Regions from separate parts of the Homo sapiens genome. Here regions 1, 3 and 4 are each linked to region 2. The links are contacts of gene promoters, found by promoter capture Hi-C in human tissues and cell types (Jung and others, 2019). All regions are on one chromosome and are shown on one strand. Each heading gives the region's core, a stretch centred on a gene start or on the middle of the fragment in contact. The rest is flanking DNA. Distances are from core to core; before and after follow the strand shown. Region 1 overlaps MED15 (mediator complex subunit 15). Region 2 holds the start of SERPIND1 (serpin family D member 1). Region 3 overlaps MED15 (mediator complex subunit 15). Region 4 has its middle 120 kb from the start of MED15.

The links. The method cuts DNA at HindIII sites, captures the fragments that hold promoters and counts their contacts. A contact is called where the count stands out against the background at its distance.
Region 1: a contact is called between a fragment that was not itself captured here and the fragment with the promoter of SERPIND1 in region 2, in 2 of the 25 tissues and cell types used here (dorsolateral prefrontal cortex and lymphoblastoid cells).
Region 3: a fragment that was not itself captured here is called in contact with the fragment with the promoter of SERPIND1 in region 2 in 1 of the 25 tissues and cell types used here (stomach).
Region 4: a fragment that was not itself captured here is called in contact with the fragment with the promoter of SERPIND1 in region 2 in 2 of the 25 tissues and cell types used here (IMR-90 fibroblasts and lymphoblastoid cells).

What each region holds. Positions count from the first base shown.
Region 1 is chr22:20,576,589-20,579,446 of GRCh38, forward strand. All of the region lies in intron 9 of MED15 (mediator complex subunit 15), which reads left to right. Among named protein-coding and RNA genes, the nearest start is that of MED15, 70 kb to the left of the region's middle. The HindIII fragment of the contact is 7,226 bases long and covers 1-2,858 here.
Region 2 is chr22:20,772,622-20,775,390 of GRCh38, forward strand. It overlaps SERPIND1 (serpin family D member 1), which reads left to right and starts at 1,492. Exons shown (of 5, transcript NM_000185.4): 1 at 1,492-1,524. The region is part of intron 19 of PI4KA (phosphatidylinositol 4-kinase alpha); the gene reads right to left. The HindIII fragment of the contact is 14,489 bases long and covers 1-2,769 here.
Region 3 is chr22:20,551,582-20,554,367 of GRCh38, forward strand. It overlaps MED15 (mediator complex subunit 15), which reads left to right. Exons shown (of 18, transcript NM_001003891.3): 4 at 1,564-1,593. Among named protein-coding and RNA genes, the nearest start is that of MED15, 45 kb to the left of the region's middle. RefSeq lists an enhancer at 2,562-2,731. The HindIII fragment of the contact is 5,082 bases long and covers 1-2,786 here.
Region 4 is chr22:20,624,981-20,627,680 of GRCh38, forward strand. It overlaps the pseudogene SMPD4P1. Among named protein-coding and RNA genes, the nearest start is that of MED15, 120 kb to the left of the region's middle. The HindIII fragment of the contact is 4,060 bases long and covers 1-2,700 here.

The sequences.
Region 1 (2,858 bases), core at 125-2,624, 200 kb before region 2:
GGGACTTCCTTTTTAGTAGTTGTTGAATTACAGCGGGAGGAAGTGCCTGGAATCTGCTGGTAGAAAGGCTTTGGTGAAAGAGCTCTCCAGAGGAGCGGAAGTTGGGGGTCAGGAATTAGGTTGTGTGGCTGTGGTGGAAAGGAGGCCAGTGTGGGCAGAAGCCAGGGTGCAGTTCCCCATGGCCTGGAGGCTGTGAGTTCCACGACCTGCTCACATGCTGCTGGTGTCTCCTTGACTAGACCCCTTTGGGTTCTGCACTCTTGTCTGCTAAAACTGCTTCTCCTCCTTTCCCATAGCCTCTGGCACAGTATCCACTGGGTTCACAGAATCAGGTTGGGTTGCTGTATGTGGAGGAATGACTTTAGTAGCAGCATGTAGGACTGATTTTTATAAACACAAAAAGTCCCCAATGTTTTCAGTGTGCGATATGTGCCAGGCCTTGAGCTAAGCTCTTTGTGTACAGAGCCTCACTGTTTCTTGTTGTAGCAGGTCATAGTTTGAGCATTTAGCCCCTTTTACAGACTAAGAGTGCCCCCAGGGAGCCACCAAGTCAGGATCGAGGGCTCAAGTGAAACCCTTATGCCTTGGCCTCTCAGCAGGATTCTTCTGGAAACTCCTCACTCCCCTTCCTGCTGGGCTGATGACCTGGCTTCTCCTTCTTGTTTACTGGGCACTCCTGGGTGGGCTCCCTCCATGCCCCCACAAGACCAGGCTCTGTCCTGGGCTTTGGCTTGCCCATACTCTGTTGTGGGCTGGCCACTCCCCACACCCAGCTGCTGGTGTTTCCACCTAGACTTCTCACAGGCAGCCCCTCCCTCCCTCCCTCCCTCCTTCCCACCAGTTCCCAAACCCACTCAGTCTTTCCCTCCCCAGCCTTCCCTGGCCCTTAGATTAAGTCTGCCCTGAGTTATGCCAGCTAATAGGTCTCTCTCTCTCTAGAAGCTTCCAACCCCCAAAGGCAAGGAGGTAAGGTGGAGCAGAGGAAGGATAGAGAAATATATGATGAAGCTGAAAAAGTTATTGCCTTGGAATAAATGCCATGGAGAATTCTGGTTTGTCCTCATTGCACTGTGTGGGGTGAGAGCGCTCTCATGGGAAGATGCTGGCTAACTGCACACAGATTTAATCACCAGGCCCCGCCCATTCGCACTGGCAGTGAGAGGCACACCCCTGAACCTTTGGGGTTGTTCACTGAGGACAAACGCGGCAGCATTTAGAAAGTATTCCTCGTCCCGGCAGTAGACAAAAGCCACAGGATTTATGGAAAGAGGAAGGAAGGCACAGAACTGGGGCAAGGTTCTGGTTTTGTTCTGTTATTTTGTTGTCATTGTTACTGTTTGTTTTTCTTTTTTTGAGACAGAGTCTCGCACTTGTCCCCCAGGCAGGAGTGCAATGGCGCACTCCTGGCTCACTGCAACCTCCACCTCCCAGCTTCAAGCGATTCTCCTGCCTCAGCCTCTCGAGTAGCTGGGACTACAGGCGCCTGCCACCACATCTGGCTAATTTTTGTATTTTTAGTAGAGATGGGGTTTCACCATGTTGGCCAGGCTGGTCTTGAACTCCTAACCTTAGGTGATCCGCCCGCCTCGGTCTCCAAAACTGTTGAGATTACAGGTGTGAACCACTGCGCCCAGCCTTGTACTGTGTTTTTAAAGCAGGTTTGTTCATGCTTGTTAGCTGCAAGAAAGGAAACTGGAAGGAGTTGAGGGAGGGAGAAAAGCGAATAGAGGGACACCCTGGAGTGGAAGCCTCCCTACTGCCCAGGCAGCTGCTCTGCAGCCCTCTCTGGTCCTGGCCTTCCCCGCAGAGGGCCCTCCCCAGCTCAGCCCTCTACGTCCGGCTGCAGTACCAGGCTCTTGGTACAGTCTCCCACACCTGGCTGTGGGCCAGCCTTGGGGACGTGAGGCATGCTGGGCCCCGTGTACCAAGGGCATTCACCTGACCACACCAGGTGGCTCCAGAGGTGTGCCTCTGCTTTTGTGTCAGTATCTTTCAATCCAGTCCCTTCCGAGAAAAAGAGAGCTTATCTCAGGAACGTATCTGTTGATCTCACCAGGAATTGCCCCACTGTGTCCCATCTGAGCTCTCAGGGGCCAGAACCTGCTGTCTCCAGTGTGTCCAGATGGCCACTCTGTGGCCACTGTCCCTCCAGCCACTTGCCCTCAGCAGTCAGCAGGACACAGTCTGGAGACTACACTGCCCATTTGCTCTTGCTCTTTCCTTGTGGCAACAAATTAGGTCCAAGAAAACAGGTGGAGCTGAAAGAGGGAATGTACGTGCCCCATGGGCTCTTCTCCAGAGGGCAGGGCCCAGGCTCCCTCCCTCTGTCTTGACGGCTCATGGCTGCATCTTCCTGTTACGGTGGGCATGCCTCACGGACTCAGGCTACCAGGTCAAGCAGGATTCTGTGCTGGGTGCATTCTGGACACAGTGCTCAGCACGGGGGCCCAGGGGGTGGCATGGCCCATGCCACAATCCTCCCTTGGCAGATGTAAGCAGGCAGTGTCTTTCTCACTAGGGGCTTGTCCTTTGACTAGAGAGGCACTGTTGCCTCCCTGTTCCCTGCTCCAATCCCAGACCTGACATGAGACCAAGGACTGGGAGGTTTCTTTCTCGCCTCTCTGGCTGCCTCCCCAGAGCCTAGAGCCTGTCTTTGGATGAGTCTTTGCAGGGGCTGCTTCTCATCCCAGGTGCTGGACTTGGACTGCCCACCACTGACACCTGGGCACAGGGCCTGGCTTCCTGCTCTCGTGCTCTTGGAAATGAATGGGTGCCCTTCATTTGTTTTTCTTCCCACTAGAAATCTCCCTGCCTCCCATCCTCTGGGCTCTGCTGGCTGCCAGCTGCCAGGGTGAGAC
Region 2 (2,769 bases), core at 242-2,741:
GCACACCCGCAGATTCTCCTAGGAGTCACATTCTCTCTTCAGATAGACTCTGGGTGCCGACACTCCCAAACATGCTCTTGAGGAGCAGTCTCTGTGATAAGCTGATCTTCCAGACAATCCAGAATATTCTTAAAACTTTTTAGATCATAAAATTTAAAACACAAATTAAAAAACAAATTATCATAAGGCCGGGCACAGTGACTCATGCCTGTAATCCCAGCACTTTGCAAGGCTGAAGCAGGAGGATCACTTGAGCCCAAGAGTTCAAGACCAGCCTAGGCAACATAGTGAGACCCTGTCTCTACAAAAAAGTCAAAAGTTAGCTAGACATGGTGGTGTGCACCTGTATTCCCAGCTACTTGCAGGGCTGAGGTGAGGAGGATTGCTTCAGCTCGGGAGGTTGAGGCTGCAGTGAGCCAAGATCACGCCACTGCACTCCAGCCTGGGTAACAGAGTGAGACCCTGTCTCAAAAAACACATAGGGCCAGGCGTGGTGGCTCACGCATGTAATCCCAGCACTTTGGGAGGCCGAGACGGGAGGATCACTTCACTCCAGGAGTTCAACACCAGCCTGGCCAACATAGTGAAACCCCGTCTCTACTAAAAATACAAAAAATTAGTTGGACATGGTGGTGTGCGCCTGTAATCTCAGCCACTCAGGAGGCTGAGGCAGGAGAACGCTTGAACTTGGGAGACAGAGGTTGCAGTGAGCTGAGATCGCACCACTGCACTCCAGCATGGGCAGCAGCGCGAAACTCTGTCTCAAAACAAACAAACAAACAAACAAACACCCATAAACACAAAATGTATCACAGCCTCAGAGATCCCCACGAATGCCTAAGTGGCCCTGAATTTGGGAGGCACTGCTCAGTAATAGTCCTATCTGTCCCACAACAGACAGGAGTGCTGGGCTGCACCTACTGGCAACAAACACAGCAACCCTTGACTGAAGAAAGGTCCATGCCACAATCCCCTTATTCTGTAAGCCACTAATTTTGTCCTCTCTCCTCCACCTTTCACTGAGGAACGAGCTCTTGGAAGGACAGGGACACCCGCCTAGTAGCTGAGCCAGCCACATCAGTCCTGGAGAGCAGGTGGAGGGCAGATGCTGTGATCATCCCAGAAGAGAGGACACAGTTGGAGGCAGATGCATGGTCTCTACTTTCAGCTACCCTCAATGCAGCCTGGTCCCCAGAGGCCTGAAGAGCGCCTTGTTTATGTGGTGACCTCAAGAGGGGCTGCTCCTGCACCAAGGCTATGTGTGCATGCTAACACAGTAACCGTCATATACTCAAAGTGTCAGCTCTAAGAACTGGAGATGAGGAGCTGCAAGCCACTCTACAGTTATCAAAGGCACAGCTGAGGGGGTTTGTGCTGACCAAGCTGGTTGCCTGGTGTTTGGATTGGGACTTATTTACTTTGGAAAATATGCAGCAACAGCCCAGCACCAAAGTTCACATCAAAATCCCACTGATGACCTTGGCTGCTTTCATCTCTGAAGCGCCACTTCTCAGAAACACAGAGGTAAGTTGGGTTTCTAATGTTTCTGCTGATTATAAATTATTTTTGGTGTTTACGGATAGGCAACTGGTTCATTTTTCTAGCAAACTAAGAATTCAGAAGCTTTCTACACTGTTTTAGAAGTGGGAAATGGTTTCATTTTTCAGTGTGCCTATTATAAAATTGTGTCAGTTCCATTGTTGGGAGAGTTGACAAACTTAGAATAGGAGCTGTGGAATAGATGAAAATATTGTACTTATATTAAATTAATCGAATTGGATAACTGTCCTGTGATTATGTATGAGAATATCCTTGCTCTTGGGTATTTTCCCTGAAGTATTAGTATTAAAGGTTAGAGGGGCCGGGTGCAGTGGCTCACGCCTGTAATCCCAACACTTTGGGAGGCCGAGGCGGGTGGATCACGAGGTCAGGAGTTCAAGACCAGCCTGACCAACATGGTGAAGCCAAGTCTCTACTAAAAATACAAAAATTAGCTGGGCGTGGTGGCACGCGCCTGTAATCCCAGCTACTCAGGAGGCTGAGGCAGGAGAATCGCTTAAACCCGGGAGGCAGAGGTTGCAGTGAGCGGAGATCGTGCCACTGCACTCCAGCCTGGACAACAGAGTTAGACTCCGTCAAAAAAAAAAAAAAAAAGAAGAAAAAAGAAAAAATGTTAGAGGAACAAGATATAGGAGACCTACTCTCAAATGGTCTAGAAGAAAAAATGTGTATGTGCATGCCTGTGAGAACACACACGTACGTACACACACACACAGATAATGACAGGGCAAAGGTTCCAAAATTTTAAACCTGGTAAATCTCGGTACGGGTATACAGGAGTTGTTCTACTACACTATTCTTTCAACATTTTTGGAAGTTTGAACTTACTTCAAAATAAAAAGTTTTCCAAACTTTAGGCAGTTACTTCTCTCCCATTCTGCCTGCTCTGTTGGGCCTGGAGACCATACACCAGGAGGGATGACGGTTTATCAAGTGTTATGCTCTGATGCGTGACTGAAAAGGCCAACCCAGCTCTGGCAATTAGCAAGAAAGCACAATATGAAGTTCCCAGGAAAAAAAAAAAGCAAAACAAACTTTTGAATGATTTATCTTTAAAATATATTGTTTCTCTTCAAACAGTAATCTGGATTTAATCACAACCTAGTGATAGTTTTTAAACGTCTTCTACAATGTTTGTTATACTAAATAGCAAAACATCAGGAAGATTTACCTTCAGATCTTTAATTTCAATCCATAAAAGATATCAGA
Region 3 (2,786 bases), core at 67-2,566, 220 kb before region 2:
CCTGAGTCAGAAGGTCTGTGTCACCTCACTTGCTTCTGGGAAGTTCTTCACTGCCTTGCATTTGACTCCAGATCCCTCCATCCTCCCAGAGCCTTGGCCTCAAAAATGCTGATTCTAGCATCATGGAAATGCTGTCCTCAAAGTGGTCTAAACGGGTTGCTGCTTCACTTGCTCACTTAATCTCCCTTTTCATAGGGCTGTTGTTTTTACTTCTGGGAAGTTCTGTTTACCCTGGAACAGAAACTCTCTTCCCTAAAAGTTGATTTTATTGACCCATGGAGGCCAGAGACACTTAGGCATATTTTCCCTCCAGACTAGAAGCTTCTGAGGAGGACCTCCTGAGTCTGCACCCTGGCTCCCTGCTGTGCTGAGGGCCCCCGTGTTAACCTCACGTTGTGCCTCCTCTGATTCAGAGGGCCCAGTGTGGTTCTGTCAGCCAGGCAGTGGCCCCAGCTCTACAGAAATGAGTTGTCATTGCATCCTAGGGCCAGGGTCTTCGTGCTTGTGTGTGTTACGTGGAAGTATGTGGACACCAAGTGTTCCTGGATGGCCACAGCCTGCGAAGGAAACTGGGGCCAGCAGCTGCTCTGTGTTTTCAGCCAACAATGGCTCCTGCCCACTGCCGCTGCATAACCACCAGAGGCAGGCTTCTCTTGACACAGGCCTGTCGTTGGAGCATGTGCCTGGCGAGTCCTATTTCTATTCCCCTGTGGGTTAGGGACAGGCAGCTGTACCTTCAGTGTGTTGCTGGGTCAAAGGGAGACATTGAGCACTCCAGAGCCTGGTAGGTTTTGCTTCTTTCCACACTAACTTTTCACCAGAATGGCCAGCAAAGTGAACTTCACTGATCTCACTCTCTGTGGTGTTGGAAAGTCACTGGGATGTGTAAGAGGAGAAGGAGCAGCCCAGATGATCTGGCCCAGATGCGCTGGCAGACTCCGCATGTTCTGCTTTCAGGGACAGTGGCCTGGCTGGTGCACACAGTCCTGTGGGGCTCATGAGGTCATGGGAAGCAGCCGAGCAGGAGGCTCAGGGCCCCATGACTGCTACAGAAGTTCTCCGCTGGGCACTGGGGTCAGCTGGACTGGCTTCCAGCTGGCCGTGGACAGCCTCAGTTTCCTCATCTAGGTAACAGAGACACTGCCTCACCAGAGTGGGCTGCAAAGGGAGGCAGTGTCAAGTCTTGGCACCACTCCAGCCCCGCCGTGGGTTCCTGTAGTGTTCTATTATTTGTTTGCTCAGGGCTGAGCTGAGACTCTGGACCTGGGAAAAAGGAAAGCCAGAGTAGGCCCAGGGTCCCCAACCCCAGAGTGCTTCAGCCTTGGGGGCAGCTCCCTAAGGCCCCAGGTTGACCCTGGAGCTACTCTGCACCCTCTGCCCCCAGGTCTCTTGTGGGGTCAGCGCTGCCAAGAGTAGAAACACTTCCCCCAGTAGTGGGGAGTACTAGGAGCTCCGTGGGGATTAAGGCTTGGGCAAATGCCTACAGAACTGACCTACCCATGGAAATATGTGGTTATATAAAACTATGTTTACTTTCGTTTTTTTGTTTGTGTTTTCATATAGATAACAAGAAATCTCAAGCTTCCGTCAGTGGTAAGAGTTTTCCCTTTTGAGTTAAAGTTTCTCCCAACTTTGGATTTGAGGTGGCAAGAATGACATAGTGCATGCCTCATGTGCCTGGGTTAACCTGTCACTAGAGGAGAATGCTTGCGGAGAGAACTCTGGAGGGAGGAGGCTGACCAGCTGTGCCCTGACCTCTCCAGCCTTCGTCTTCCTGCAGACTGTGAAGTCGCATGATCCTCCCCATCCCGTTTCACACAAATGCTGCCTTTGCCCAGCAAAAAGATAAACACTCACAAAGCTATTAAGACATTATCCAAAAGTGTTGAGCTCTCTGGTAGAGAATTATTATGCTGTTTTCAGTGTAATAATATGTAGTAGCATTTCTGAGAAAATGCTGTGAATTCACTTTTTTAAGTTACAAAGTTTCTTTGTAAATTTAGAAATCTGGCTGGGTGCTGTGGCTCATGCCTGTAATCCCAACACTGTGGGAGGCTGAGGCAGGCAGATCAGTTGAGGTCAGGAGTTCAAGACCAGCCTGGCCAACATGGTAAAACCCCATCTCTACTAAAAATACAAAAATAGCCGGGTGTGGTGGCATGCGTTGTAGTCCCAACTACTCAGGAGGCTGAGGCATGAGAATCGCTTGAACCTGGGAGGCTGAGGTTGCAGTGAGTTGAGATCGTGCCACTGCACTCCAACCTGGATGACTGAGTGAGACTCCATCTCAAAAAAAAAGTTTAGAAATCCATATTTTTAAATTTCAGCGTTTATCACATGAGGGGAATTCTGTCAATTCAGCCTTGGTCTCTGCTGACTAAGCTGCAAGGGAAGGGGTTTAACAGATCCAGGCTGGCCAACTGCATTCTGCCATTGGGAAGGGAGTGCACTGACCTCACAGGCTGCACGCCACTGTCTGCCCTGCCCTAGACAGTAGAGCTGTACATGCCAGCTGTCTCTGCCCATGTGGGTCTCACCTCTCAGCCAGGACAGGGATTCTTGGCCAACTGGGGCTGAGCGGCAGCAAGGGCATGTGGCCAGAACATCTGGGCCCCTTGGCATTGGAGCATGGGGTCCTGGGTACCACCCAGTTGTGTGGCATGGCGGTCCTGCCAGGACATACCTGTCTGTGGGTAGCTGTTTGCTGTGAAGTCCACACTGTTGTGACAATGGCATCCTTGTCCTTGGTTGTGGCATTGCTCACTGAGCTGCTGACCTGGTGGGCT
Region 4 (2,700 bases), core at 42-2,541, 150 kb before region 2:
TGCACTCCAGCCTGGGCGACAGAGAGAAACTCCGTCTCAAAAAAAAAAAAAATAAAACAAAGCAAAACAACAACAACAAAACACACACACACACACACAAGGCAGGTAAAAATTATAGATGGCTTGCACCAAGTAAACACTAAACATAAAGGCAATGGAGAGGCCAGAAAAGACTCAGGACAAGGACTAATAAAATCTACCCACAGTCGTGGGATATACGGAAAGCATCCTGACTACAAGGATAAAAATAGCGTCTGTGCAAATGGACTCACATCAGGAGAAACTGCTAGAATCTGTCTACCTCCAAATGCCTTGTCTACCTCCAAATGAGGGTGGATTTCACAGGATTTGAGACAAGAGATGGAGACCTGAGTTGTCTGGCCATGTGGCAGACCTGGTGGCTCTAGTGGGGTGCCCTGGGGAGGAACGTCCTTCCACATACATATTTACAAAAATACCTCCTAAGAACTAAAATTAGGAACTTTCATCACCAATACTTGCTCATACCTAACTTCTCGCTTCTCAGTATCATTTTTTCTTTTTTTTTTTTTTGAGTCTTACTGTGTTGCTCAGGCTGGTCTTAAAACTCCTGGGCTCAAGTAATCCTCCTTCCTCGGTGTCCTTAGTAGTTAGAACTACAGATACGGACCATTACACCCAGTTCTCAGCACCATGTTTAATAGTTAAAGTGCTAACCTAGCACCCCCTCAGAACATAAGAGTGTCTCCATTTTTCACTAATGACAATTATGATTATCAGAATGTTTCATGTCTGTTTAAGAACTTACAGATCATGAACACTCTGATGTACATCATTCTCATTTGCTCCTCCCCCTCCTCCTCCTCATACCCCCTTGGGAAGTAGAGAAAATAGAACTTGAATGAATTTGTCTTGTATGGGAAAACCCAGAGCCCAGAGCCCAGCGGTTGAGTAACCCCAAGGCCCTGTAGTAATAAGGGGGCACAGTCAAGCTTAAGGAGTCTGGCATTGCTTCCATCACACGCTCCTAAAAGACAACCACTAGAGAATTCTTCAAGTCAATGGGAAGAACATTCAAGTCCCACAGCTACAGAGCTGTGGCCACACTGACACTCATCCAGACAGCTGATATTTACCAGTAGAAAGCTGGGCCGCTGCAGGTGAGGGAACGCCATAAAAGCCTCCAGTGGAGAGTTGAAAATGGCCTTCTTAGCAAACCACTGTGGAAAAACAGAGACAAAATCTCAACATCTGCAGCACAGCAGAATCTTTTTATTTTTCTAGAGACAGGGTCTCATTCTGTTGCCCAGGAGAGAATGCAATAGCACGATCATAGCTCACTGCAACCTCAAACTCCTGGGTTCAAGCAATCCTTCCCCCTGAGCCTCCTGAGTAGCTGGAACTACAGGCACACACCACCATGCCTGGCTAATTTTCTTCTTATTTTCTTTTTTGTAGAGACAGGGTCTCGCTATGTTGCCCAGGCTAGTTTCAAATTCCTGGCCTCCACTGGCCCTCCTGCCTTGGCCTCTTAAGTGCTGGGATTACAGGTGTAAACCACTGCACCTGGCCCTAACAAAATATTACATAGTTTCACAATGCCCAGGAGAACATTTGTGTAACTCAACATGCATTACATTATCGATTCTCATGTCTTCTTTATTTATTTGTAGAGACAGGGTCTTGCTTTCCCACTCAGGCTGGAGTGCAGTGGTATGATCATAGCTCACTGCAACCTCAGACTCCTAAGCTCAAGCGATCCTCCTGCTTCAGCCTCCCAAATAGCTGGGACTACAGGCACACACCACCAGGCCCTGCTAATTTTTATATTTGTTGTAGAGATGTGGTTACATCATGTTGCCCAGGCTGGTCTTCAGCTCCAGGGCTCAAGTGATCTACTTGCCTCAGCCTCCCAAAGTACTGGGATTACAGGCGTGAGCCACCACGCCCGGCCAGCAATTCCCACATTTTACAGAAACACCATTCGCATGCAGCCCACAGTGGCCAGCTTCAGAGCCAAGTCTGTGGTACTGAATCCTTGGTAATGCTTGTACAGCACTTGCTGTATGCCAGGACTTGCTCTATACACCACACACACTGTCAGTCCCCAGGAGGGGAATGTGGTATGTGATGCTTCATAAACACATTGAACTCTTTCTGCCAAGGAACAGCCATTAACACCTTGGGGTTACTTGCAACTCACCTGTGGACTGTTGGTCTGAGCTATTGTCCATCACTTGCAACTCAGTGTACACAGGTTCATCAGAGCTGGTCCCAAAAGCAAGTCCAAGCGCTGGAGAGCATGAGTGGGAAATCTCACTTCCACCTCGGATGGAGAAAAACTTCAGCAAGATTGTCATTTTATCTTTCCGACCCAGATGGACTCCATCTTGACTCAAAGACAACCAGAACATCACCAAGCATCTCCTACAGGGCAGGCTTGGTACTAGGTGGTTTTATTTAGATTATTTCATGGAATGTTCAGGAGAATTGCTCCCTCTTCACTCCTGAATTCTTGATGCAGTTCTTCCACTTTCGCCCTTTCTTCTCGTCTCTGTCTCATTCAGCTCCCTCATTACAAACCTTCCAACTGGCTGGATGGCGCAGTTGCTCAACCAGCAGAGAGCACTGGGGTAGCCCCAAATAAATGTTCATGTCATCTCCAAATTACCAGCACTATTCCCAGGTCCCAATTCAAGACAAAACCTTATCAGCCTCATC